Regions from separate parts of the Homo sapiens genome. Here regions 2, 3 and 4 are each linked to region 1. The links are contacts of gene promoters, found by promoter capture Hi-C in blood cells and fetal thymus (Javierre and others, 2016). All regions are on one chromosome and are shown on one strand. The core of a region is centred on a gene start or on the middle of the fragment in contact, and the rest is flanking DNA. Distances in the headings are between cores, read along the strand shown.

What was found. The method cuts DNA at HindIII sites, captures the fragments that hold promoters and counts their contacts. A CHiCAGO score of 5 or more calls a contact.
Region 2: a contact is called between a fragment that was not itself captured here and the fragment with the promoter of E2F2 in region 1, in 1 of 17 cell types (fetal thymus). The highest score is 6.6, in fetal thymus.
Region 3: a fragment that was not itself captured here is called in contact with the fragment with the promoter of E2F2 in region 1 in 5 of 17 cell types (fetal thymus, naive B cells, erythroblasts and 2 more); the score reaches 6.0 in fetal thymus.
Region 4: a fragment that was not itself captured here is called in contact with the fragment with the promoter of E2F2 in region 1 in 1 of 17 cell types (fetal thymus); the score reaches 5.0 in fetal thymus.

What each region holds. Positions count from the first base shown.
Region 1 is chr1:23,528,704-23,535,113 of GRCh38, forward strand. It overlaps E2F2 (E2F transcription factor 2), which reads right to left and starts at 2,530. Exons shown (of 7, transcript NM_004091.4): 1 at 1,839-2,530. The coding sequence starts at 2,090. RefSeq lists silencers at 1,936-2,084, 2,622-2,761. The HindIII fragment of the contact is 7,412 bases long and covers 1-3,933 here.
Region 2 is chr1:23,772,903-23,779,312 of GRCh38, forward strand. ELOA-AS1 (ELOA antisense RNA 1) reads right to left here and starts at 5,395. Exons shown (of 4, transcript NR_038280.1): 1 at 5,297-5,395. It overlaps PITHD1 (PITH domain containing 1), which reads left to right and starts at 5,516. Exons shown (of 6, transcript NM_020362.5): 1 at 5,516-5,811. The coding sequence starts at 5,614. RefSeq lists silencers at 1-231, 5,446-5,755, 5,846-5,895 and an enhancer at 4,240-5,192. The HindIII fragment of the contact is 2,586 bases long and covers 994-3,579 here.
Region 3 is chr1:23,331,466-23,337,875 of GRCh38, forward strand. HNRNPR (heterogeneous nuclear ribonucleoprotein R) reads right to left here. Exons shown (of 11, transcript NM_005826.5): 4 at 6,289-6,396; 5 at 2,053-2,166. Among named protein-coding and RNA genes, the nearest start is that of HNRNPR, 9.6 kb to the right of the region's middle. The HindIII fragment of the contact is 903 bases long and covers 3,099-4,001 here.
Region 4 is chr1:23,360,159-23,366,568 of GRCh38, forward strand. ZNF436 (zinc finger protein 436) reads right to left here. Exons shown (of 4, transcript NM_001077195.2): 4 at 1-3,063. The coding sequence ends at 1,811. Among named protein-coding and RNA genes, the nearest start is that of ZNF436-AS1, 5.6 kb to the right of the region's middle. The HindIII fragment of the contact is 336 bases long and covers 2,113-2,448 here.

The DNA.
Region 1 (6,410 bases), core at 1,280-3,779:
CCCTTCTGGGAGGGAGGTACAGACAGATGTACTTGGGCTCCTCTGGGAGGGTTCAAAGCAGTGTAAAACCACAGCTGTTACTGAAACTTCCAGTCTGAAAGCAGCTGGCCAGAGGAGAGTGGGCCTGCCGCAAAGCTCCCTTCCCTGGGGGGAGCTCAGCTCCTAAGTTAGGCAGTATTAAAAAAAGTCAAGGCTACATAGAGAAGAGCCTGCTGCCTGACCAGGTGCATTAGAGTAGCTAGCTCATGCCTGTAATCCCAGCACTTTGGGAGGCTGAGGCAAGAGGATTGCTTGAGCCCAGGAGTTTGAGACCAGCCTGGGGAACATAGGGAGACCCCTGTCTCTACAAAAAATAAAAAATAAAAGACAGAAGAGCTGACTGCCTTGTGAGTCCCATCACTCTACCCCATCCCCATCTCTGACCTTAGGTCACATCCCCTCTCTGAGCCTCAGTTTCCCCCTGTAACATGGAGCTATTAATGCCATCTATTTCACGAACTACAAAGATGTTTTAGGCTATAAAACACTGAACACAAGATACCCAATCCCAGTTATCCTCGGTTGCTTAACCTGTAAAATGGGGATAATACCATTCCTGCCCACTGCCCTCCTAGTTAGAAATCATGTGCAGGAAGGGTCTCCAGGAAGGTTAACGTTTTGAACATGGGCAAAGCCTGAGTCCACTGGCAGGGAGTGGTGGCTCTGCCTGCATCCAGAGCTGGCTGGGCATCCGTGCTTGCTGACTAGCACAGGTCTGACCAGATGCCTCTGGGGCAGTGGGGGGTGGTCTTATCCCTGTACCCGAACTTATTCACCAAACTCACAACTAAGCAAACCTACAACACCCCCTTCCTCTCCCTGGAGCCTGCTTCCAAAACCCAGGACCTGGAGCTGAATGTGGCTGAGAAGAGCTAGCCCCACAGCCACCCTGTGCACACACGCATTGTGAAGGAGAGAACACTGAAGCCCAGACTGGGTCCAAGACTTGTCCAAGGACACACAGAGAATTAGTGGCAGAGTCACACCAGAAACCAGGCTCCTCAACCACCACCACCTCCACTCCCCCAGGCTTTTCCCACTCCACCCCCCACCCTAAAGTTGTTTTGATTCACACGGGCTCCAGGAATTCCACTCCCACAAAACACACCCTGAGCCCAGGTCAGCAGGCAGCCTGGTGCCACTACACTTTGGGCCCTCTCTGGCAACGAGCCTGGGAGCTTGAGGAGAGAGCAGCCAATCTGAACAGAACCCAAGGGGGCTGCCCACATTTGTATCTGCTACATGGCTGTCTGGGAGGGAAGACTGGGCCTGGGGGAGGACCTAGGGCAGATACTTGGGGCTATCTCAGGAGCTGGCTGGACAATTTGGAGTCTGTCCATGGCAGATTGGATGTGAGAGACCCACTAGACCTATCCCTCTGTCTTACCAAAGTCCCACAGTGTCCCCAGGCCATACTCTTTGCCTGGACAATAGCAGGCACCCAGTACTGGTTTCTGGCCAAACAATGAAGTAATGAATGAATGGCGGCAACGCTGGCTGCATGGACTTCCCCAAGGTCACACAGTGCACTGGGAGTAGTGAGTTGGGTCTCCCTCCAGACTCGCAATCCAGTGCTCATTCCACTCCACTAGAATGGATGAGATTATTTCATCCAAAGTCTGAAAATGAAGGGGTCTTCTACTCAGATATTGGGGGCACTGGGTCCTGGAAACTGAAAGCTCATCTTCCCTCTTCCCAAAACTCTACCTGCTCCACTCAAACTGGATCTCAGGCACCCCTCCCTCCTTTCCCACACCTGGAAAAGCATAGGGGGAAGCGGTGGGGGCCCCCAGCATTACCGGCAGCCGGCCTGCCGGCAGGCATCGCACAACTTGGCCCTCGGGTCCGTGGGGAGTGGCGTCGAGGCAGGTGCCTGGCGCCGCTGCGGGAGGCGCCGTCTGCGGGTACAGCGGTGTGTAGTAGGTAGCAGTAGCTGGGCAGAGCTGGGGGCTGCTGAGGCCGGATGGCCACAGCTCTGTGGGGCTCATCGCGGGCACCACCTTCGGGGTCTGCCCAGCGGCCGAAGCCAAGGCCCGGGGCCCTTGCAGCATAGCGAGTAAGGCGCCCCCTACCCAAAAGGGCTTGGCGCGCCCGCGGACACCTGCGGGTTCCGGTGCTGCCGCCTTTCACACGGCCCGCGGCATGGCGCGGAGGCCGGGGGAAGCCGCCAATGGACGCCTGCGGGGCAAGGCCGGACCCTCCCCTCCTGGCCCGCGGCCGAGCAGAGAGCAGCGCTTAGAGATCGCCGCTTGGAGATCGCCCGGCGGCTGCGGTGGTGGCACTGCCAGGGGCTGTCTCGTCCCGAGGGCACCGCGACCCGGGACGCCCCGCGCTCCCCAAGGCCTCGGCACCTGGGGTCCGGCCGGCTCTGGGGAGGGGTCCCCGGCGTGCCCTCAAGCTCGGCGGAGACGCGATGCGCTGGGATGGGGAGGGGGGTCTCGACTGCACCGACTTCCTTGCGGCTCGCTCTCTAGTCCTTGAGTCTTTCTCTGCCTCTTTTTTTTCTTCTTTTTTTTTTTTTTTTAGCGCCAAACGTCGTGCCGCGAAATTCGGATCTCCCGCGGAAAATGCCGCGCTCCGGTTGGCTGCTGCGACAGTACAGGCTCCACCCCCCCCCCCCCCCCCGGAAAGAACGCGTCCTCGAGGCGGCGATTGCAACACTAGCTTCGCTGCTTAAAGGGGCAGCCACACCTGCTGTTGGTGCCGCCAGCCGCCGGCCGCGCTAGTTAGCAGCCGGCGAGACGGAGACAGAGGGTGGTTCCGGGATTCACAGTGCAGAGGCGGCCAGAGCAGTGCACAGCGCCCCGAGAAATGGGCCCGGATTCCCTGGGATTGAAGGGAAACATTTTGGCGCGGGGTCCCAGCCTGAGCCCAGACCCAGCAGTGTATTCCCCAGGCCACAGGCCCTTTTGTTAGTTTGCATTGTTGCTTAGCTAGCACATGTGCATTCATATCCCCTTTCCTGCTAAAATGAAGGCCAGGAACCTGTTCCCTTTAATGGCAGAGGGGTGAGGGACGGAGGCAAACTAGTCTACTTCTTTGTAGGGAAAACTAACATCTATTCAGCGCCTACAGGATGCCAGGCACCATGCTAGATCCTTACAAGCGTTGTTTTAGTTAATTTATTCCAACAATCCTGGGAAGAGGAATGATGATCCCCATGATAAAGACTGACAGTCTGAAAGGCTGGGTAACTTGCCCAAGGTCATACAGAGAGATTCCCTGATTTGAGAGCTGGCAACAGAATCTGGGACAGGTCCCAGCTCTGGAGCCCTTGTTTTTCCAGTTAAGGGGTTCTTCTACTCTCCCAAGCTGCCTGGGGGCACAGCAGGGTCAGAGTCCCACTGCAGAGCTTTGTCTTGTTCACAGTTGTATTATTAGGACCCAATACTCAGTAAATGTTTGAACATCTCTAGGTTTCTTTTAAACAATCCTTTTGTCACAAGAGCCTCTCTGCCTCATTCAAAAACCTTCATTGCTGATAATACATTCCTCATCACTCCGGTTTAGAGAGGCTCAGAGAAGCAAACTTGGGTAGTGAGTGGTAAAAAGTTGCTAGAAGCTGCTGCTAGATTTCAGGTCTGATTTCTTGCCTGGTGCTGTGTGATTTTTATGCAAGTCTGAGCCTTGGCATTCAAAGCCCTCCAGAGACAGTCCACAGCTTAATTCCTCATTAGATGGTTGAGGCCAAGGTGGCAATAACCCATGATGATTAAGAGCCCAGGCTTTGTAGCCAACAGCCCCGAATTCAAACCCAGGCCCAGACACTTTATTATTCATTGTGTGACCAAGGCAAATTTTGTAAATTCTCTGATCCTTGATCCTTGATTTTCTCCTCCTAATAGCACTTACCTCATATGATCATGAGGAAATCTCATGAGATAATGCATATAAAGCTTTCATCACAGAACCTGGATCATAAGGAGCCTCAAGAATTGGCAGCTGTTGTTATATCTCTGACTTTTTTTTTTTAGACAGAGTCTCACTCTGTCACCAGGTTGGAGTGCAGCGGTGCAATTCTCCTGCCTCAGGTTCAAGTGAGTCTCCTGCCTCAGCCTCCCGAGTAGCTGGGATTACAGGCGCCAGCCACCATGCCTGGCTAATTTTTGTATTTTCAGTAGAGGCAGGGTTTCACCATGTTGGCCACGCTGGTCTCGGACTCCTGACCTCAGGCAATCCGCCCTACTTGGCCTCCCAAAGTGCTGGGATTACAGGTGTGAGTCACCGCTCCCGGTCACATCTCTGACCTTATCTCCAGTGCATAAGACCCTTTTACTCTAGTCTACGTATCTCATTGGTCCTTTTTGGTCCTTTGAGGGCCAGCTTAAATCTCACCTCCTCCAAGAAGCCTCCCCTGCCTGCTTCCTCTCAGCCAGAATGGCTCTTACCCTCTTGGGACCCTTAGTGTGTTCTACCTCAACAAAACAAGGCTTCGTTTTCATACCTTGTTTATCAGTTAGGTTCTATGCTCCTTCAAGAATCTAGGTCAGATCTCTCTAGAATGCCCCTTAGCATCTAGGGCCTGGCTTGGAGTGCAGAAGGCAGGTAATAAATACTGATTATGATTCACTCATCTGCCTGGCTGCAAAGAATAGGAGAAGTTAATGAGATCTGAAGTCAGAAAGTCAGGAGGCCCAGATTAAGTAAGTCCCGCTCTCTACTTCCTAGTTAAGTGACACTGGACAGCCGCTGCTTCACTTCTCTTAACCACAATTTCCTCAACCATCAAATGTGGATAATGCTATCACTCAGTCAATTTCACATTACTTCAGAGACACTACTTAAATGACAGTGGTGGCGATGATCACTGATTTTTATTGAGAACCTACTATACACTGGGCTCTAAGCACCTTGAGCCCCTCCTCTGATCCTCACAACACTGCTCTGAGACGGACACTATTATTATCCCCATTTTACAGATGAGGGAACCTGGAAGGAATTGTGGCAGAGCAGGTTTGGGGAAGCAGCAGGGCCCCAGGGCCAGGGAGGGAAATGGGGGTGGCAGGGTGGAGCTGGGAGAAAAGAAGGGAGCCAGTGAGGGGCTGAGAGCCAGCTCTCTGTGGTTGAGTTTCGGGCAGCTGGGGCTGGCTTTAGAGTTTCACTGCCTGGGAACTGACTAATTCTTGCAATAGGTGTGGGGCACAGATCTGAAATCTGCCTCCCTGAGCTTGAATTCCTGCCCCATTCATTCCTAGCATTGTGATCATGGTCAGGTTGCTGGACCATTCTGAGTCTCAATTTCCTCATCTTTGAAATGGAGGCGGCACAAGTGACCTCTCCATTTACTGTGAGGCCTTAGTAAGGTGTTGGTTATAAAGTCCTTAGAGAAATGTCAGGTGCATGGTAGGTACTTAATATATTTTGGCTAAGGTTTATGTGAAATGGACCCGAAGAGGCCCTCACATGGAACCAGACTAAATACTTGCAGTTTCAGGCCGGGCACATTGGTTCATGCCTGTGAACCCAGCACTTTGGGAGGCCAAGGTGGACAGATCTGTTGAGCCCAGGAGTTTGAGACCAGCCTGGGCAACATGGCAAAACTCTGTCTCTCCAAAATACAGAAAAATTAGCTGGGCGTGGTGGCACACGCCTGTAATCCCAGCTGCTCGGGAGGCTGAGGTGGGAGGATCACCTGAGCCCAGGGAGGTCAAGGCTGCAGTGAGCCATGATCATGTCACTGCACTCCAGCCTGGGTGACACAGTAAGACTGTCTCAAAATAAACAAACAGGCCGGGCACGGTGGCTCATGCCTGTAATCCCAGCACTTTGGGAGGCCGAGGTGGGTGGATCACTTGAGACCAGGAGCTTGAGATCAGCATGGTCAACATGGCAAAAACCTGTCTCTACTAAAAATACAAAAAAAAAAAAAATTAGCCAGGCGTGGTGGTGTGTGCTTGTAATCCCAGCTACTCGGGAGGCTGAGGCAGGAGAATCGCTTGAACCCAGGAGGTGGAGGTTGCAATGAGCCAAGATCGTGCCACTGCACTCCAGCCTGGGTCACAGAGCGAGACCCTGTCTCAAACACACACACACACATACACACACACACACACACACACACACACACACAAAACCCTCAGAGTTTCTGCCGTACACGCCCTACACTTTCCCATCTCCCAGGCTTTGCTTACCTGGCTCCATATCCTCCTATTCTTCAGGCCCCGCCTCCCCTCCAGGCCCCTCCTCCCCTCCATCCCCATGTGCCCAAATCTGACTCATCCTTCAAGGTCCAACTCAAATGGAGTGGAAGGAGCAAAGAATCTGAAGTCAGACATCCCAGGGTTCAAACCCAGGCCCTGACACTTTATTAGCTGTGTGACCCAGGCAAAATTTCCTAAATTCTCTGATCTTTGATCCTTGATTTTCTAATC
Region 2 (6,410 bases), core at 1,037-3,536, 240 kb after region 1:
TGACTACTCTTGCACTTTGGGGCCATTATTAAGTCAAATAAGGGTGACTTGAACACAAGCATTGCAATATCACGGCAGTCGATCCGATAACGAACAGGGCACTTACTTAGTAAGTGACTAACGAACAGGGAGTGTATACAGCGTGGAGGCACTAGACAAAGGGACGATTCAGGTTCCCCAGGTGGACAGAGCGGGACAGCACAAGACTTCATCACGCTACTCAGGACAGCATGCAATTTAAAATTTACAGATGGTTTATTTCTGAAAATTTCCATTTAATATTTTTGGACAGTGGTTGACTGCATGTAACTGAAACCACAGAAAGCAAAACCGAGTCAGGGGCAGGGGAGGGGGGCGGCTACAGTAATAGCCTTTCCCTGTGGACCAGATGTTATACCAAACACTTTCATGTGTTATTTCACATTACTGTCATAGCACTCCACAACATAGGTACTGTTATGATTCCCATTTTATGTAAGACAAATCTGAGGCCTAGAAAAATAAATAAATAAAAAGAAAAAAGAAAAAAATCTGAGACCTAGAGAGGTTAAGCAATTTGCCTAGCAGGCCAAACCTAATATTTGCAGGACAGGAGCAAGAATACAGCTGAATGCATACTTAAAAAGTTATAAATGACCCTAATGAACTATTAAATAAAAGACAATCTATTCTGCTATGTCAATAAATAAACCTTCACAATGACCTGGAAGACCACATTCACATTTTTGGGCCTCTCAGAGTTCTGTACTAGAAGGTGGTGAGAGGCAGAGAACAGGACCCTAGCCCTGCCCCATTCTCTCCATATCTCTAAATCTGTGTGCCTGGAAGGGCCTTGTGTCCACGCATGCAGAGGTCCTAACCTGTGTGCTCACACTTTGTTCTAGGGGTTCTAAATTGAAAAGGTCCCTCAGGTATCCAGCACAATGAATGACAAAAGAGACCAAAGCACAACAAAAATCATCACATTCTAGAATACCAAGAGAAGATCTTAAAAGCTTCCAGAAAACGGGGTGGGGTGGGGGGAAAACCCATAAAAAGAATCAGGATTCAGAACAGCATTGTATTTATCAAAGCCAGAAGAAAACCAGAGCAATTTCTTCACAATTATGAAAGAATTCTATCCACAGCCAAACTACTAATTAAGTACAGTAGAATAAAGCCATTTTCAGTGCCACTTAACATGTATGGCAGCATGGTAGCCAGCCACTAAGGTGGCCTCTAATGATTTCTACCTCCTGGTATCTGCACTCTTATGAAGTTCCCGCACACACTGAATATGGCTGACCTGTGAAACCATGGGATGTTGCAAAATTGACAATATGGGACTTCTGTGGCTAGGTCATAAAAGACATTGGTGGTTTCTACCTTGCCCTTAGATCACTTGTTCTGCTGAAAACCAGCTGCTGTATCATGAGGACACTCAAACAGTACTATTGAGAGGTCCATGTGTTAAGGAACTGGGGCCTCCTGCCAAGAGCCTGCACAAACTTGCCAGCCGGGGCTTCTCCAGCCCTGGCCAAGCCTTCATATGATTTCAGGCTCATGAGAGACCCCAAGCCAGAACCACCCAGCTAGGACGCTCTCAAATTCCTAACTCACAGAAACTGTGAGATGATAAATGTTAATTGTTGTTTTGAGGAGAGAGGCCATTTCTCTTACTGTCTCTGAAGAGAAGGAAGAAGTAAAAGCTGAAAAACAACAGGAATGAAGTCAGTGGCAAGACCAACTGATGCCACTTACCAGGCCTGAGGTTAAAGATTAACGCCCCCACCCTAACCACATGTGTTACCTATAGATCACTTGCTCAATCTATCACAACCCTTTCACGTGGACCCCCTTAGAGTTATAAGCCCTTAAAAGGGCCAGGAACTTTTTCTTTGGAGAGCTTGGTTCTTGAGACACAACTCTGCCAACGCTCCTGGCCGAATAAAGTCTCTTCCTTCTTTAACCTGGTGTCTGACAGGTTTTATCTGCAGCTTGTCCTGCTACAGTTTTAAGCCATTAAGTTTGGGAATAATTTGTTACACAACAAAAGACAACTAATACAGACCTACTGGGAGGGGAGGAGCCACAGTATTTTGCAGTTCTTCCAATCAGGAGGTGAAGTCTACAGTCTAGCTCTCCACTCTAGAATTTGGATTTGGCTGATGGGTCATTATAGAAAGATTATAGATGTAAGGCTTAAAAAGTGCTTGTGCTGGCAGGGCGCAGTGGCTCATGCCTGTAATCCTAGCACTTTGGGAGGCCGAGGTGGGCAGATCACCTGAGGTCAGAAGTTTGAGACCAGCCTGCCCAACATGGTGAAACCCCATCTCTACTAAAAATACAAAAATTAGCCAGGCGTGGTGGCAGGCGCCTGTAATCCCAGCTACTCGGAAGGCTGAGGCAGGAGAATCGCTTGAACCCGGGAGGGGGAGGTTGCAGTGAGCGGAGATTGTGCCACTGCACTCCAGCTTAGGTGACAGAGCAAGACTCCATCTCAAAAAAAAAAAAAAAAAAAAAAGTGCTTGTGCAATTGAGTCTTGCCCTCTCTTGCTCCTGGGAACTCTGCAATTATCACCATGTAATTTAGCTAGGCTTGTCTGCTGGAGACACGTGGTCCCATCATCCCAGCTAACAGCCAGCATCAAGCAGACGAGAGTGAGACCATCCCAAACTTTCCAGCCCAAGCTGAACTGGCCCAGAAAAGCTAATCCACAGGATCATGCGAATTAATCAATGTTTGTTGTTTAAAGCTATCAAAGTTTTAGGGTAATCTGTTACACAGCATAAGCTAATTGATACAGCATATTTACTTTGTGTGCACCTCCCGCCTCAACCTCCCCACCCTAACCAGGAAACTACTGATGTGTTACAAGAACACTACAGGATGTGTTCAAAGCCTGGTTACCTCCTAACTTTACCTAGTCTCAGACAAGTTAGTTTGCCTCTTTCAGCCTCAGTTTTCCTCATCTTCAAATTGGAGATAACAGTAGGTAATAGCACCTAGCTCTCTTTTTTTTTTTTTTGAGATGGAGTCTCGCTCTGTCGCTCAGGCTGGAGTGCAGTGGCACAATCTCGGCTCACTGCAACCTCTGCCTCCTGGGTTCAAGCGATTCTCCTGCCTCAGCCTCCCGAGTAGCTGGGATTACAGGCACACGCTACGATGCCTGGCTAATTTTTCTATTTTTAGTAGAGACGGGGTTTCACCATGCTGGCCAGGCTGGTCTCAAACTCCTGACCTCAAGTGATCTACCCGCCTCGGCCTCCCAAAGTGTTACAGGTGTGAGCCACCACACCTGGCTGTACCTAGCTCTTAAAGTTCATGTGACAATTAATTGAGATGAACTACATAATGTGCTTAGCACACAGTGCTCAAATAAATCATTAATGAAGGCAACAGGAAAAAGCCAAAATGAGTAGATCTCCGGGGTAAGGCCTGAGTTGGTTCTTCAAAAGGACACTCTTACCAAAGAAAGGCTACCAAGTATATCAGTCAAGTAAACATTTACTGTTTGCCACATTCCAGGTCCCTTACCTGAAACTGTGACCTAAAAGCAGGAATAATTCACGGCACTGAGCTATTTTGAAACAGAACCAAGCTTGCTTATTGCACAAGTAACTAAAATAGGACATCAAAATATTTTTCTTGTTTTTATTTTTTTGAGACAGTCTTGCTCTGACACCCAGGTTGGAGTGCAGTGGTATGATTACAGCTCACTACAGCCTCACCCTCCCAGGCTCAGGAGATCCTTCCACTTCAGCCTCCCAAATAGCTGGGACCACAGGCATGAGCCACCATGCTGGGCTAATATTTTTAATTATTTTTGTAAAGATGGGGTCTCCCTATGTTGCCCAGGCTAGTCTCAAACTCCTGGGCTCAAGTGATCCTCCCACCTTGGCCTCCCAAAAGTGCTGAGATTACAGGCATGAGGCACTGCATGTGGCCCAGAAAATATTTCTGAATGGAACTTGAAAAAATGGATATTTTGGTCTATACTTCACCAGCCCCACTGAGCACTCCAGAGCCAGATGTGAAGGGAAGAGGGTAGCCAGGGTATCCCATAACTCTCTTTCTGTATCCTGTCTTTTCCCCACCAGGGAGTAGGAAAACATTCTATCCTGAAAACAAGATTATTTCACCTCTAAACAGTGACTTTTAATTATTTTGATCTCAACCCACAATATGAAAAACACATCATATTGTGTCTGAATACAAACTCAAAACTGAAACAAAAGTTTCATCAATTGAGACTTGAAATGTGTGATACATTCTGGGTTTTTTTTTTTTTGTATTCTATTTTTTTTTTAAATGTTGATCACAATTCTCTATAAACGGATTTTAAAACCTATTGACAGGCCACAACCAGCTGTTCGAAAAAAAGTACTTTGAAATATCACATGGGGGAGGAAACGCAGAGATCATCTAGTCCAATCCCTTCACTTCACAGGGGGTAAACTGAGTCTCAGAAGATCAAGTCACTTGCCCAAGGCCACGCAGCTAGTAAGTTGCTGTGGTTGGATTTGACCGTAATAACCATCGGCTACTGAATGCCCATCATGTGTCAGCCATTTGCTGAGTTTTTTCTTTTTTTTTCTTTTTGAGACAGAGTCTTGCTCTGTCGCCAGGCTGGAGTGCAGTGGCGCGATGTCGGCTCACTGCAACCTCTGCCTCCCGGGTTCAAGCGATTCTCCTGCTTCAGCCTCCCGAGTAGCTGGGACTACAGGCTCGCGCCACCACGCCTAGCTAATTTTTGTATTTTTAGTAGAGACGGGGTTTCATCATGTTGGCTAGGATGGTCTCGATCTTTTGACCTCGTGATCCGCCCGCCTCGGCCTCCCAAAGTGCTGGGATTACAGGCGTGAGCCACCGCGCCCGGCCTGCTGAGTTCTTTAATTGCATTATTTCATTTAATACTCACTGTGATCCTATGAAACAGATACTATTCTTTCCACCTTACAGACGGGGAAACGGAGTCTCAGAATAGGGGAAATGACTTAAGGTGTCACAATGGCCAGTAGCAGACCCAGGAGTAGTCTTTAGGTCTGGCCGTGCACAAAGCCCCATGCTCTCAAGCTGTAACCCCGCTATCAAGAAAGTGGTTATGCAAGTGGGCCTGTGAGCTCTCAACGTCTAAGCCGTGCGCATGTGAGACAGCGATAAGCTCGCGTTCTCCAGTCTCCAGGGCCTTATCATTCCTCACGCTTTCCTTCATCGGCTCGCAAAGAAACGTGGCGATCAAGGAAGACAGCGAAGGCTCCATCCTCGTCGGGGGAGGATAATTCGAATCTCAGCCTGTGAGTTTACTCAGCACACCTGTTTAATCTCTTGGTCCTTCAGTTTCCACACCTAGGAAGCTGGAACAGCAGCAGCATCCAGCGCCAGGACTGGAGTCATATACGAACTCTGGCACCTGGGAGGCGCGCGTCCTACGTCAGTTCCGCTCGACCCCACCCCCCCCGCCCCCCCGCCTTCTCCCCACGCGCATGCGCCGCGCAGCGGCGCTTTTTACGACGCGGCAGGCGCGGCGCGCTTAGTTGCCGGAGCTGAACGGCGCGGAGCTGGTCTGAGGCGAGCCGAGCCGAGCGAGCGCGGCGGTGGGGCCGAGAGGACGCGCAGGTGGCGGCGTTGCCATGTCGCACGGTCACAGCCACGGCGGGGGTGGCTGCCGCTGCGCCGCCGAACGGGAGGAGCCGCCCGAGCAGCGCGGCCTGGCCTACGGCCTGTACCTGCGCATCGACCTGGAGCGGCTGCAATGCCTTAACGAGAGCCGCGAGGGCAGCGGCCGCGGCGTCTTCAAGCCGTGGGAGGAGCGGACCGACCGCTCCAAGGTGGGCCGCCTGGGGCTTGGGGCGGGCGGGGCAGGGTGCGTGTGGGGCCTCGGGCCGTCGGTCTACTCATTTCTGATGTTAAGAATAACGACAGCCTGGTTGCCAAGCGCTTTTCCGTGCCTGTCTCCTGCCAGCTCTTTGGGAGGCGAGCAGCGTTGTCTCCCCATTTTGCATATAGGGAAACTGAGGCCTAGAGGGAACGGGGACAGTTTTGTCAAGCTACACAGCCTAACGCTCTATTCCAGGGCTGTGTGGGCTAGAGAGGATGGTCGTGAGGGCCGTTGGACCATTGGTGCTAATGGCTGCCTCATCATATTACCTGGTGAAGATGAGCCTAGGGAGATGAAAGGTGGTTCCCATATAGAGCAAATGTTCTTTACATTGTGGGGTCGCAGGCCCCTTTGCTATCTGTTTGAAAGCAGTGGACCTTCTTCTCAGAAAAATGCACATAAACACCTGCCTTTCAGTTCACACTTCAGAAGGCTCTTCGACCCTGGAAATTCATTCATGGGCTTTTTGTTAAGAACCTTCCAGTTGGGTGGCCTGTGGCTGTTATGACACTGGATAAGACTGGTTAGCTTCAAGTTAATAAGTCTTGG
Region 3 (6,410 bases), core at 2,300-4,799, 200 kb before region 1:
GATGTCAGGAGTTCGAGACCAGCCTGACCAACATGGAGAAACCCCTCCTCTACTAAAAATACCAAAACTACAAAATTAGCCAGGTGTGGCGGCGGATGCCTGTAATCCCAGCTACTGAGGCTGAGGTAGGAGAATCGCTTGAACCCGGGAGGCAGAGGTTGCAGTGAGACGAAATTGCACCATTACACTCCAGCCTGGGCAACAAGAGCAAAACACAAAATAGCTGGGTTTGGTGGCATGAGTCCATAGTCCCAGCTACTGGGGAGGCTGAGGCAGGAGGGCTGCTTGAGCCAGGAGGAGTCTGAGGCTGCAGTGTGCTATGATCACACCACTAAACTCCAGTCTGGGTGACAGTGAGACTGTTTCTTTAAAAAAAAAAAAAAAAAAAAAAAAAAAAGGTCCCTGGTGTAACAGGTTACTTTTCAGCACACAGTTTTCTCCATTTGAAGGATGAGCAGGAGTTCATGACCCGCCTGGCCAACTTGGCGCAACCCCGTCTCCACTACAAATAGAAAAATTAGCCAGGCGTGGTGGCAGGCATCTGTAGTCCCAGCTACTCGGGAGGTTAAGGCAGGAGAATCGCTTGAACCTGCGAGGCAGAGGTTGCAGTGGGCTGAGATCCCACCACTGCACTCCAGCCTGGGCGACAGAGCGAGACTGAATGGAGAGAGGGGAGAGGGGAGAGGGGAGGAGAAGAGAAGGAAGGAATAGAACAGGCTAGCAATAAGGCAAATGGAAAAAGCTTTAAGAAGACAGATGGGGAAAGAATTGCTTCTTTGTTCAAGTATGGACTAACATACTCAATCTTTTATCTGATTCCACATCCTTCCCTTGTGCAATCCACGCCCATCAATAATATCTCTCCATAAATACTAAGTCCCTTCTGAGTGATAGGTGAGGCAAGGGAGAGGACAAGCACAGTTCTAAATTATTGATATTAAAAAAAAAAAAACTTGGCCAGGCGCGGTGGCTCACGCCTGTAATCCCAGCACTTTGGGAAGTCAAGGCAGGTGGATCACCTGAGGTCATGAGTTCAAGACCAGCCTGACCAACATGGTGAAATCCTCTTTAGTAAATACAAAAAATTAGCCAGGTGTGGTGGTGCATGCCAGTAATCCCAGTTACTTGGGAGGCTGAGGCAGGAGAATCGCTTGAACTTAGGAGGTGGAGGTTGCAGTGAGCCGAGATTGCACCATTGCACTCCAGCCTAGGCAACAAGAGCAAAAATTCCATCTCAAAAAAAAAAAAACAAAACCAAACCAAAAAAAAAACAAAACAAAAACAAAAAAACTTGGTTGGGCACTGTGGCTCATGCCTGTAATCCCAGCACTTTGGGAAGCCAAGGCCAGCAGTTCAAGACCAGCCTGGGCAACACAGTGAGACCTGGTCTCTACAGAAACAAAAACAATCCCCAAAAAGCAAAAACCAAAAAAAGCAGCCGGGTGTGGAGGCTAACGCCTGTAATCCCAGCACTTTGGGAGACCAAGGTGGGTGGATAACTTGAGGTCAGGAGTTCGAGACCAGCCTGACCAACATGGTGAAACCCCGTCTCCACTAAAATACAAAATTAGCCAGGTGTGGTGGCACGCACCTGTAATCCCAGCTACTCAGGAGGCTGAGGCAGGAGAATCACTTGAACCCAGGAGGCCGAGGTTGCAGTTTGCTGAGACCGTGTCACTGCACTCCAGCCTGGACAACAAGAGCGAAACTCCATCTCAGGGGAGGGGAAAAAAAAAGACAGAATAAAGCAATTGCGTCTTCCAAATAACTTTACTCCAAGTATCTAAAATGGTGTGCTGCTAGTAGCATGGTTTTAGCAACCTGTTCCAAAAACTCTATATTATATTCCTATATAAAGTGTTCGGGTATCTACCAGTCACAAGATTATCCATCCTCATGATGGCAGCAAAATACAAATGGATATCTAAAAACTAACAACAGCTACACTTTGAAAGGGATCAAGAATTTTCCCCCGTCTGTACAGTATCTGCATAGTAGATAAAACACTTTCCAAACTGGAAAGATCTTGGTAAACTGCTAAAGAACACTTACCTCCGTTCCAATTCCAGGTTGCACGCCAGAGTACACACTGTCTGGTGGAGGACCACCATACTTCCTCTGTCCTGTGGTTACATCCAGAGTATAACCAGTTCTCTCAAGCAAGGCCTAGAGATAATTATACATCTCTTTATACTTGAGTACTAAATCTCACACACAAGCATCAGTGTATTAATCTTTTCCAAAAAGGACTCCAACTTCCTAGGAGATATATTTTTATGGTTAGGTAAAAAAAAAAGTCAAAATTCGCACTGGTTCCCCATACATGTTTCTACTGGTGAGTCTTTTCAAATAAAATGTTCTCTATCCTTAAAAAAATTAGCACAAGTCTTACCTCCTTCATGCAGCTTCTCTCATTTACTATTACTCACATCCATTTCTCCCTACTGTCTTTTCTTCTTTTTTTTTGAGATGGAGTCTTGCTCTGTTGCCCAGGCTGGAGTGCAGTGGCATCGTCTCGGCTCACTGCAACCTCTGCCTCCCGGGTCTAAGAGATTCTCTTGTCTCAGCCTCCCAAGTAGCTGGGATTACAGGCATGTGCCACCACGCCCAGCTAATTTTTGTATTTTTAGTAGAGATGGGGTTTCACCATGTTGGCCAGGCTGGTCAGGAACTCCTGGCCTCATGAGATCCGCCTGTCTTGGCCTCCCAAAGTGCTAGGAGTACAGGTGTGAGCCACTGTGCCCAGCCCCCACTGTCTTTCTAGTGTACTTTTTTTTTTTTTTTTTTTTGAGACGGAGTCTCGCTGTGTCACCCAGGCTGGAGTGCAGTAGCGCGATCTCGGCTCACTGCAAGCTCCGCCTCCCAGGTTCACGCCCTTTTCCTGCCTCAGCCTCCCGAGCAGCTGGGACTACAGGCACCCGCCACAACGCCCGGCTAATTTTTTGTATTTTTAGTAAAGACAGGGTTTCACCGTGTTAGCCAGGATGGTCTCAATCTCCTGATCTCGTGATCCACCCGACTTGGCCTCCCAAAGTGCTGGGATTACAGGAATGAGCCACCATACCCAGCCTCTAGTGTACTTAAAGTTCCATCATTTAAGCTTGATTTTGTTTGATCCTTCTGGTTTGTACTCCTGCCATATCATAAGCTCCACAAGAATCAGGTAATCAGACAAGAATCATACAGTACAGACTAAAAATATTTGGCAATTACCAAATAAGTATAGTCAGGTTCCGAAAAATAAGTAAAATCTTGTGTTTCCTGATTACCAACCTTCCTTACATTCTATTAGGTATTAAGAGCAATCATAGAAAAGAAGATAATCTCCTTGCTCTCAGGAATTTATGTTATAATTGAGGCAACATCTATATAAAGAGCTTAGAGAAGAAAAGATACAATGGTAAACAAAGAAACACAATCTACCTAGAAAAGAGAAATTTACACTTCAGTTTTTTTGGTTTTTTTTTTTTGAGACGGAGTCTCGCTCTGTCGCTCAGGCTGGAGTGCAGTGGCGCGATCTTGGCTCACTGCAAGCTCCGCCTCCCGGGTTCACGCCATTCTCCTGCCTCAGCCTCCCAAGTAGCTGGGACTACAGGCGCCTGCCACCACACCCGGCTAATTTTTTGTATTTTTAGTAGACAGGTGGCCTCACCGTTGTTAGCCAGGATGGTCTCGATCTCCTGACCTCGTGATCCACCCGCCTCAGCCTCCCAAAGTGCTGGGATTACAGGCGTGAGCCACAGAGCCCAGCCAGGTTTTTAAAATTACACAATGTCAGAACAATAAGAGACTTTAGATATCATCAAGTTCAGTGAACACTAGGATTTCACAGGGATGCATGCCTTCGGCCTTCCATTCTTCTACCTTTGACTGAAACAGAGCCATAAATGTAATATAAAACAGGGGTCCCCACACCCCTGGGCCACAGACCCGTACTGGTCCATGGCCTGTTAGGAACCGGGCTGCATAGCAGGAGGTAAATAGCGGGCAAGTGAGAACAAAGCTTCATCTGTATTTACAGCCGCTCCTCATCCTCCCTATCATTGGCATTACTGCCTGAGCTGTGAGCTCCACCTCCTGTCAGATCAGCAGCCGCATTAGGTTCTCACAGGAGGGTGAATCCTATTGTGAAGTGTGCATACAAGGGATCTAGGTTGCATGCTCCTTATGAGAATCTAATGCTTGAAGATCTGTCACCATCTACCAGTATGCCCAGATGGCACCATCTAGTTGCAGGAAAACAAGCTCAGGGATCCCACTGATTCTACATTATGGTGAGTTGTATAATTATTTCATTACATATTACAATGTAATAATAATAGAAATAACTTCAACATACAATAACTATTTCTAATTAAAAAGTCTATCACAGCCGGGCGCGGTGGCTCACGCCTGTAATCCCAGCACTTTGGGAGGCTGAGGCGGGCGGATCACGAGGTCAGGAGATCGAGACCATCCCGGCTAAAATGGTGAAACCCCGTCTCTACTAAAAATACAAAAAATTAGCCGGGCGTAGTGGCGGGCGCCTGTAGTCCCAGCTACTCGGGAGGCTGAGGGAGGAGAATGGCGTGAACCCGGGAGGCGGAGCTTGCAGTGAGCCGAGATCCCGCCACTGCACTCCAGCCTGGGCGACAGAGCGAGACTCCGTCTCAAAAAAAAAAAAAAAAGTCTATCACAGGCCGGATATGGTGGCTCACACCTGTAATCCCAGCACTTTGGGGAGGGTGAGGTAGGCAGATCCCCCAAGGTCAGGAGTTTGAGACCAGCCTGGCTAACACAGTGAAACCCCGACTCTACCAAAAAACAAAAAAAATTAGCAGCCAGGCACGGTGGCTCACGCCTGTAATCCCAGCACTTTGGGAGGCCGAGGCGGGCGGATCATGAGGTCAGGAGATTGAGACCATCCTGGCTAACATAGTGAAACCCTGTCTCTACTAAAAATACAAGAAAAAAAAAATTAGCCGGGCATGGTAGCAGGCACCTGTGGTCCCAGCTGCTCAGGAGGCTGAGGCAGGAGAATGGCGTGAACCCAGGAGGCAGACCTTGCAATGAGCTGAGATCGCGCCACTGCACTCCAGCCTGGGCGACAGAGGGAGACTCCGTCTCAAAAAAAAAAAAAAAAAAAAAAAAAAAAATTAGCTGGATGTGGTGGCGCACGCCTGTAGTCCCAGCTACTCAGGAGGCTGAGGCAGGAGAATCGCTTGAACCCAGGAGACAGAGGTTGAAGTGAGCTGAGATGAGCTGAGATGGCGCTACTGCACTCCAGCACTCCAGCCTGGGCCACAGAGTGAGACTCTGTCTCAAAAAAAAAAAAAAAAAAGAAAAGTATGTCACTACAGCAAGACACGAGTATCCATTTAACTAAGGAATTAGGTTCACTGGTCTTTCATTAAAAGCTGTATATTTACCTTTTCAAAGCTGTTTATCTAAGTAATAAAATGGTAATAATAATAATGGTTCATGGTTATATAGTTCTTGCTACATTCCAGGCATTATTCTAAGTGCTTTATATATGTTAATTCATTTACTCCTTACAATAACTCTGTAAGGTAGTCACTATTACTATCCCCATTTTATAAATAAAGAAACTGAGGTAACTGAATATTCAAAAGGAGGAAAGCAGTTATAACAACTTTTTATCAAGTTATAACCTTTTTATCAAGAGAAAAGAAACAAAGTGGCTGGAAAATAACTGAACCAAGAGACATTACTGGATCAATCCAAGAAACTACCAGCGAAGCATCAATAAATATACGTCATTCATGGCCACAAAAGAGGGAATGAGGAAGAGTATGAATTAGGGCTTTTCATTAAACATGCAATTGAGTGTCGATCCCCAAAATTATCCTTCTTATGTAATTCCTCTAAATTATTTCATTTCTAAACACTAGTTTTGAAAAGTGAAACTTTCAGCTGGGCGTGGTGGCTCACGTCTGTAATCCCAGCACTTTGAAGGCCGAGGTGGGCGGATCACAAGGTCAGGAGATCGAGACCAATCTGGCCAACACAGTGAAACCCTATCTTTCCTAAAAATACAAATAATTAGCTGGGTGTGGTGGTGCATGGCTGTAATCCCAGCTACTTGGGAGGCTGAGGCAGGAGAATGGCATGAACTTGGGAGGTGGAGCTTGCAGTGATCCAAGACTGCGCCGCTACTCCAGCCTGGGCGACAGAGCAAGACTCCGTCTCAAAAAAAAAAAAAGTGAAACTTTCTAGGAAACATGGAAAGAGGCATTTGACCTCATCATTAAATGCAATTTCATTACAACTACCCAAGTCAAGTTTTACCTTGATCTTCGCTTCATCAGGTCCCTTTGTGGACTCTTGCACCTTGCTCCCCTGTTTCTCTCTCTGCCTGTAGGTCTTCATAACTCCACATAAAAATGCACTTTTGTTCTAGAACAGACAAG
Region 4 (6,410 bases), core at 1,031-3,530, 170 kb before region 1:
CAACATGAAGGAACCCCCCTGGAAGATGGGTTACTTTAAAGGTTGTGTTATTAACAAGTGATGTGGTCCCACACAGCTGTGGGTCACAATAACTCATTATAGTACCCACCCAGAGAGACCACTGGCTCCTTTAACACCAAGTCCTAAAAAGCTATGGCAAAACATTTTTAAAATGTTACAACATTCACAATAAAGAACAGTAGCAATAAAGCACAGTAGAAATAAACTGGGGGTACTCTCAAAAGAAAAGATATTCCTCACTCCAGTCCCATTTTCTGGGCACCAATTCCCTTCCACCCCAACATGCTTGGATAGCATCAACACTTGAGATATTTCTTAATTCCTACCTGGACTGAGATTAGGAAAACTGACACTACTGGGCTTAAATTGGGCGAACTGTTATTTTAACCTCTTATATCTGTAGGGTGGGAGGATGGAAATACATTCCTACCGAGGTTCGTTAATTCCTTCTGACTAAGCCAAAGAGTTCTTCATTACCATAGAAGATAATTCATTCTGAGAATAGGACAATCGACCTATTTGTCTGGTCATTATCTTCCACAATTGACAAACACATACAAACAAGTGCTTAGCTCTGTACAAAGACAGACCTTACAGGAGAGTGCACACTAAAGCACTAGTGTTTAAATTATTTTCCATAATGAAAAAAGGACATTTCTCACATTGGAGTTATGTCTGTACTTCTGTCACATGACTCACATCACCCAAGAACATGCTAAGTCTCTGTAAATTCAGTTTCTATTAGAAAAACCACAGGAATACACATTACTGTACATACACATGCCCTGATGCAAGCTAAGATAAACACTGGGATGTGGCCCTTATCAAATCTTAGAGTTAGCAGGATAGGAAGAGTTGATCTTAAAGATTAGAAGGGAAAGAACACAGAAACGACCTACATTCCTTGGGAAGGGACTCTGTGGTTCCTTCCCTGAAGGACTCAATTCCACTTGCTCCTTACACTTAACTGTCACTGATGGTCCTATCTTTTCTTGAAGATATTTTCTATACAATATTCCCTATAGTGATCCCCAAAGAAAATTCATAAATCTGATTAATGGCAGTAATAACTGTGGGCATCTTCTGCTAAAGTCACCATCATTGATGGGTCCTTGGTCCCCAAACCTGTGTCTCATTTTTCCTTTCCAACCGTATCTTCAGTTAGCCTTCACAAAGATGCAAGCTTTAAAGGAGCTAATTAGAAACAATGAGAAGGAGAAAAGTTACAATCATTGCCTTCATCGTGCAAAATCTTGCCCTCAGGAAGATGGAAAAGATACAAATGCATGAGCAACTCAAGGAAAAAGCCCTTTGGAAGGGAAGATGTGTGTGCCCAACTACTATGGTGTGTGAATAGGTGTGGCAATTTAGGCAGAGTCTCTAGTTGCCTTTTTCCAAAGCAGCCATTACCACCCTATTACAGTCCCACGTTTCACTTAGCATAGTTCCTTGGGCCAAGGATGGGAGAAAATAACATTGAAAGATTTACTCCATTTCCAGGCCTAAGCATTCACCAGCATTTGTCCCCTGGTCTTCAGATTTCCAGTTACTTGTGGGGCTGCTTTTAATGAAGTAACCCATTGAGTGAATAAAAATCACCATTTTGGAGGAGATAACATTCCCAAAGCTGAGGGTCAGAATTTCAAATGGCTTGTCATCTCTGATGGTTTAAATCGTGGCCCACAACTAGGAGAGTATGATAAAAGCAGCTCAGTCTTGAGGGCGTTCATTGATATCAAATAAAATTGTATCTTCAAATGAATCATTTCTCAGCCATCATAATTACAGCTTAGTCCGTATGAACTCTCTTATGTTTAATAAGAGCTGAGCTCCTGCTGAAACTCTTCTCACATTCGGTACATTCATAAGGTTTCTCTCCCGTGTGAACTCTTTGATGTGTGATGAGGTTGGAGCTCTGGGTGAAACCTTTCCCACACTGCACACACTCGTAGGGCTTCTCCCCTGTGTGGGTTCTCTGATGTTTAATTAGATCTGACCTTTCACCAAAGCTTCGCCAACACTCATTACACTCATAAGGCTTCTCTCCAGTGTGAATTTTCTGGTGTGTGATGAGATGAGAGCTCCGGCTGAAGCTTTTCCCACAAGCATTGCATTCATATGGCTTCTCTCCAGTGTGAGTTCTCTGGTGCTGAACCAAGTGTGAGATGCGGCTGAAATTTTCCCCACATTCGTTACAGTGGTATGGCTTCTCTCCCGTGTGGGCTCTGCGATGACGCACAAGGTCGGAGTTCTGACTGAAATTCTTCCCACACTCATCACACTTGTAGGGCCTCTCCCCTGTGTGGACTCGATAGTGTTTGATGAGATCAGATCTCTCACTGAAGCCTCGGCCACATTCGTTACATTCATAAGGTTTCTCACCCGTGTGGGTCCTCTGGTGCTGAGCTAGGTGAGAGCTCCGGCTGAAGCTTTTCCCACACTCCTCACACTCATAGGGTTTCTCACCACTGTGGGTCCTTTGGTGTTGGATTAGGTGAGAGAGACGGCAGAAACTTTTTCCACACTCATTACATTTGTGAGGCTTCTCTCCAGTGTGGATTGTCTGATGCTGAATCAGGTGAGAACTTCTTCCAAAACTTTTCCCACACTCGTTACAGTCATAAGGCCTCTCCCCAGTATGTGTTCTTTGATGCTGAATAAGGTGTGAGCTGCGACTGAAGCCTTTTCCACATTCATAACATTTATAGGGTCTGTCTCCAGTGTGGGTCTTCTGATGTCGATTAAGGTCTGAGATCTGACTGAAGGCCTTTCCACAATGAGAACATATATGATAGCGGATGCCTGTGTGGACTTCTTTGTGGACAAGTAGATCAGTGACTGGTTGGAGAGGATAGCTTACCCACTCTTCTGCTGTTAAATCTCCCCATTGTCTTTCTGACCTATCTCCGCTTTCAAAGCCCTCTTCACTTTCAGGATTTTCCTCAGCATTCTCAGCAGGTCTTTCAGATGTAGTCCCAAATTGTACATCTTCACTAATCTCTTGCTTGGGATTTACCTCGTTCTCACTCCTGATCTCAAAATCTGTAATAAAAAGTAAACAATAAGACTAGTAAGTACAAAAATTACCTATTGTGTGCCAGGCACTATACTAAATTTTTTTTTTTTTTAGACAGAGTCTCACTGTGTTGCCTTGGCTGGAGTGCAGTGGTGTGATCTTGGCTCACTGCAACCTCTGCCTCCTGGGTTCAAGCAATTCTCCTGTCTCAGCCTCCTGAGTAGCTGGGACTACAGGTGCACGCCACCATGCCCGGCTAATTTTTTTATTTTTAGTAGACACAGGGTTTCACTATATTGGTCAGGCTGGTATTGAACTTCTGAGCCACTGTGGCCAGCCTAAATTATTTATATTCTTCGTCACATATATTCTTTATCACAGCTATTCTGAGAGTCAGGAATTGTGATTATTTCTACTTCATTAATGAGAAATCCAAGACCCAGACAAGTGAATTGACTTGCTCAAGGCCATAGTAAATGGTAGAGCCAGTATTCAAACTCAGGTCTGTCAAAATTCACATTCTGTATCGCTGTAATTAATGATTCATTAAGAAAACTATACAGGCCAGGTGCCGTGGCTCACGCATGTAATCCTAACACTTTAGGAGGCCAAGTCAGGAGGAACACTTAAGGCCAGGAGTTCAAGACCAGCCTGGGCAATATAGGGAGAACCCATCTCTACAAAAAAATTTAAAAAATTAGGTGGATGTGGTGGCATGCAACTGTAGTCCCAGCTACTCAGGAGGCTGAGGTAAGAGGATCACTTGAGCCCAGGAGTTCAAGGCTGCAATAAGCTGTGATTGTGCCACCGCACACCAATATGGGTGACAGAACGAGACCCTGTCTCTTAAAAAAAAAACTATATATATTCGTGTTTTGAAAGAACACTGGAAGCAGAAAATATGAGACTCTAAATTAGAATATCTAAAAGGCAAGATTCTAGGTATTTTGTGAGTATGTATTTTTTAACTTGCCAAGCCTTCATCATTAGTAGCATCATAAAATATTTACTAAGAAGCCACTATGTTTTTGTTTGTTTGTTTGTTTTGTTTTGTTTTTTGAGATGGAATTTCACTCTTGTTGCCCAGGCCGGAGTGCAATGGCGCAATCTCCGCTCACTGTAACCTCTGCCTCCTGGGTTCAAGCGATTCTCCTGCCTCATCTTTCCGAGTAGCTGGGATTACAGGTGCCCGCCACCACATCCAGCTATTTTCTTGTATTTTTAGTAGAGACAGGTTTTACCATGTTGGCCAGGCGGGTCTTGAACTCCTGATCTCAGGTGATCTGCCCGCCTCAGCCTCCCAAACTGCTAGGATTACAGGCGTGAGCCACCGTGCCTGGCCAGAACCAACTATGTTAATATGGAGAAAAATGAATCTTTACCTATGTCATAGTTGACAGAAAAGTGACTGACAAATGTCACTTCCTACTTTTCAGTGACCTTTTAATGAAAATAGGAGTGGGAAAGTTGAAGAAGGCAAAAAAGATGTCTGGCTGAGAACATTCTTGGCATTGTCTAAGTATATTTCACATGCAGTCTTCAAATGAAAATCAAAATACACAACCACTGTCTACAAGGAGTTTTATACCAGACACTGCATTCTCCAAATTGGGTTTCTTAGTACACTCTTCAGAAAGAAAGTATGTATTTTGGGAGAAAAGGGTTCATGGATAAACTGGGTTGGTAAATGGTACATACAATATCATTTCCTTCAAAATTCACAATGCCTAATAACACATTAAAGGTTCTAAGGAATCCTGAGGTAAAAAGGCCTTATAAGGCCAGATGCAGTAGCTCAGGCCTCTAATCCCAGCACTTTGGGAGGCTGATGCAGGAGGATCACTTGAGCCTAGGAGTTTGAGACCAGCCTGTGCAACATAGGGAGGTCTCACTTCTATTAAAAATAAAAAGAGGCAGGCCGGGCGCGGTGGCTCACGTCTATAATCCCAGCACTTTGGGAGGCCGAGGTGGGCAGATCACGAGGTCAGGAGATCGAGACCATCCTGGCTAACACGGTGAAACCCCATCTCTAAAAAAAAAAAACGCAAAAACTAGCCGAGTGTGGTGGCGGGCACCTGTAGTCCCAGCTACTCAGGAGGCTAAGGCAGGAGAATGGCGTGAACCTGGGAGGCAGAGCTTGCAGTGAGCTGAGATCGCGCCACTGCACTCCAGCCTGGGCAACAGAGCAAGACTCCATCTCACAAAAAAATAAATAAATAATAAAAAAATAAAAAGAAGCTGAGCATGGTGCCTGACACCTGTATTCCTAGCACTTTGGGAGGCCGAGGTGGGCGGATCACTTGAGGTCAGGAGTTCAAGACCAGCCTGACCAACATGGTGAAACCCCGTCTCCACTAAAAATACAAAAATTAGCTGAGCGTGGTGGCATGCACCTGTAATCACAGCTAGTCGGGAGGCTGAGGCAGGAGAATTGCTTGAACTCAGGAGGCAGAGGTTGCAGTGAGCCAAGATTGGGCCACTGCACTCCAGTCTGGGCAACAGACTGAGACTCTGTTTCAAAAAAATTAATTAATTAATTAATTAATTTAAAATTTTTTAAAAAATAAAAAGAATTAGCCGGGCAAGGTGGTACGCATCTGTGATCCCAGCTACTCAGGAAGCTGAGATGGGAGGATGACCTGGGCCTGGGAAGTCAAGGCTGCAATGAGTTGTGATCGTGCCACTGCACTCCAGCCTGGGCAACAGAACAAGATCCTGTCTCAAAAAAAAAAAAAAAAAAGCCTTGTAATCATTTTTAAACCCATTCCCATTCCCAAACTTATTTGGGCAAGAAACCAGTTTTTTGGCGCTTTCATCCTTCTAACAAGTGCTTTTGGGGCTAAACTGTAGAATTGTAAATTCACATTTTTTAAAGATTGTCATTTTTTGCTTTTGTTGGATTCAGTGGAATATTTGGGTTACAGACTGCAATAGATCTGGATAGATAACTATTTATGGTTACTTTTATAAAGAAAGGATTCAAGAAACTAGGGACATCAGAGAAAGCTCAAGTTAAAAAGGAAAGCCCTCAGAGTTGCCTTTTGTTCTGAAAAAGGCTATGGGAATAAAGATTTCAAAAACAGGATTAATCCTAATGAATGGCAAATGACCTAGTGACCCATACACGCTTGCTAATGTCTGTCAAGTCTTGACAGGAGGCAAAGTGAGGCAAAGTGAGTCAAAAGACCGTTCAGCTCAAGAATATACTCTTTATTCTAGTTACACCCAGACCAAAGTACAGCAAAGAGAGAAGACAGGCTTGCAGACCATGAAAAAAAAATCAGCTGCCCTCTCTAATAGAATTTGTGATCTATTTCAGCATTCTTCTGGAACAGCATTTGACACACTACAAATCTATCATCATCAACACTGA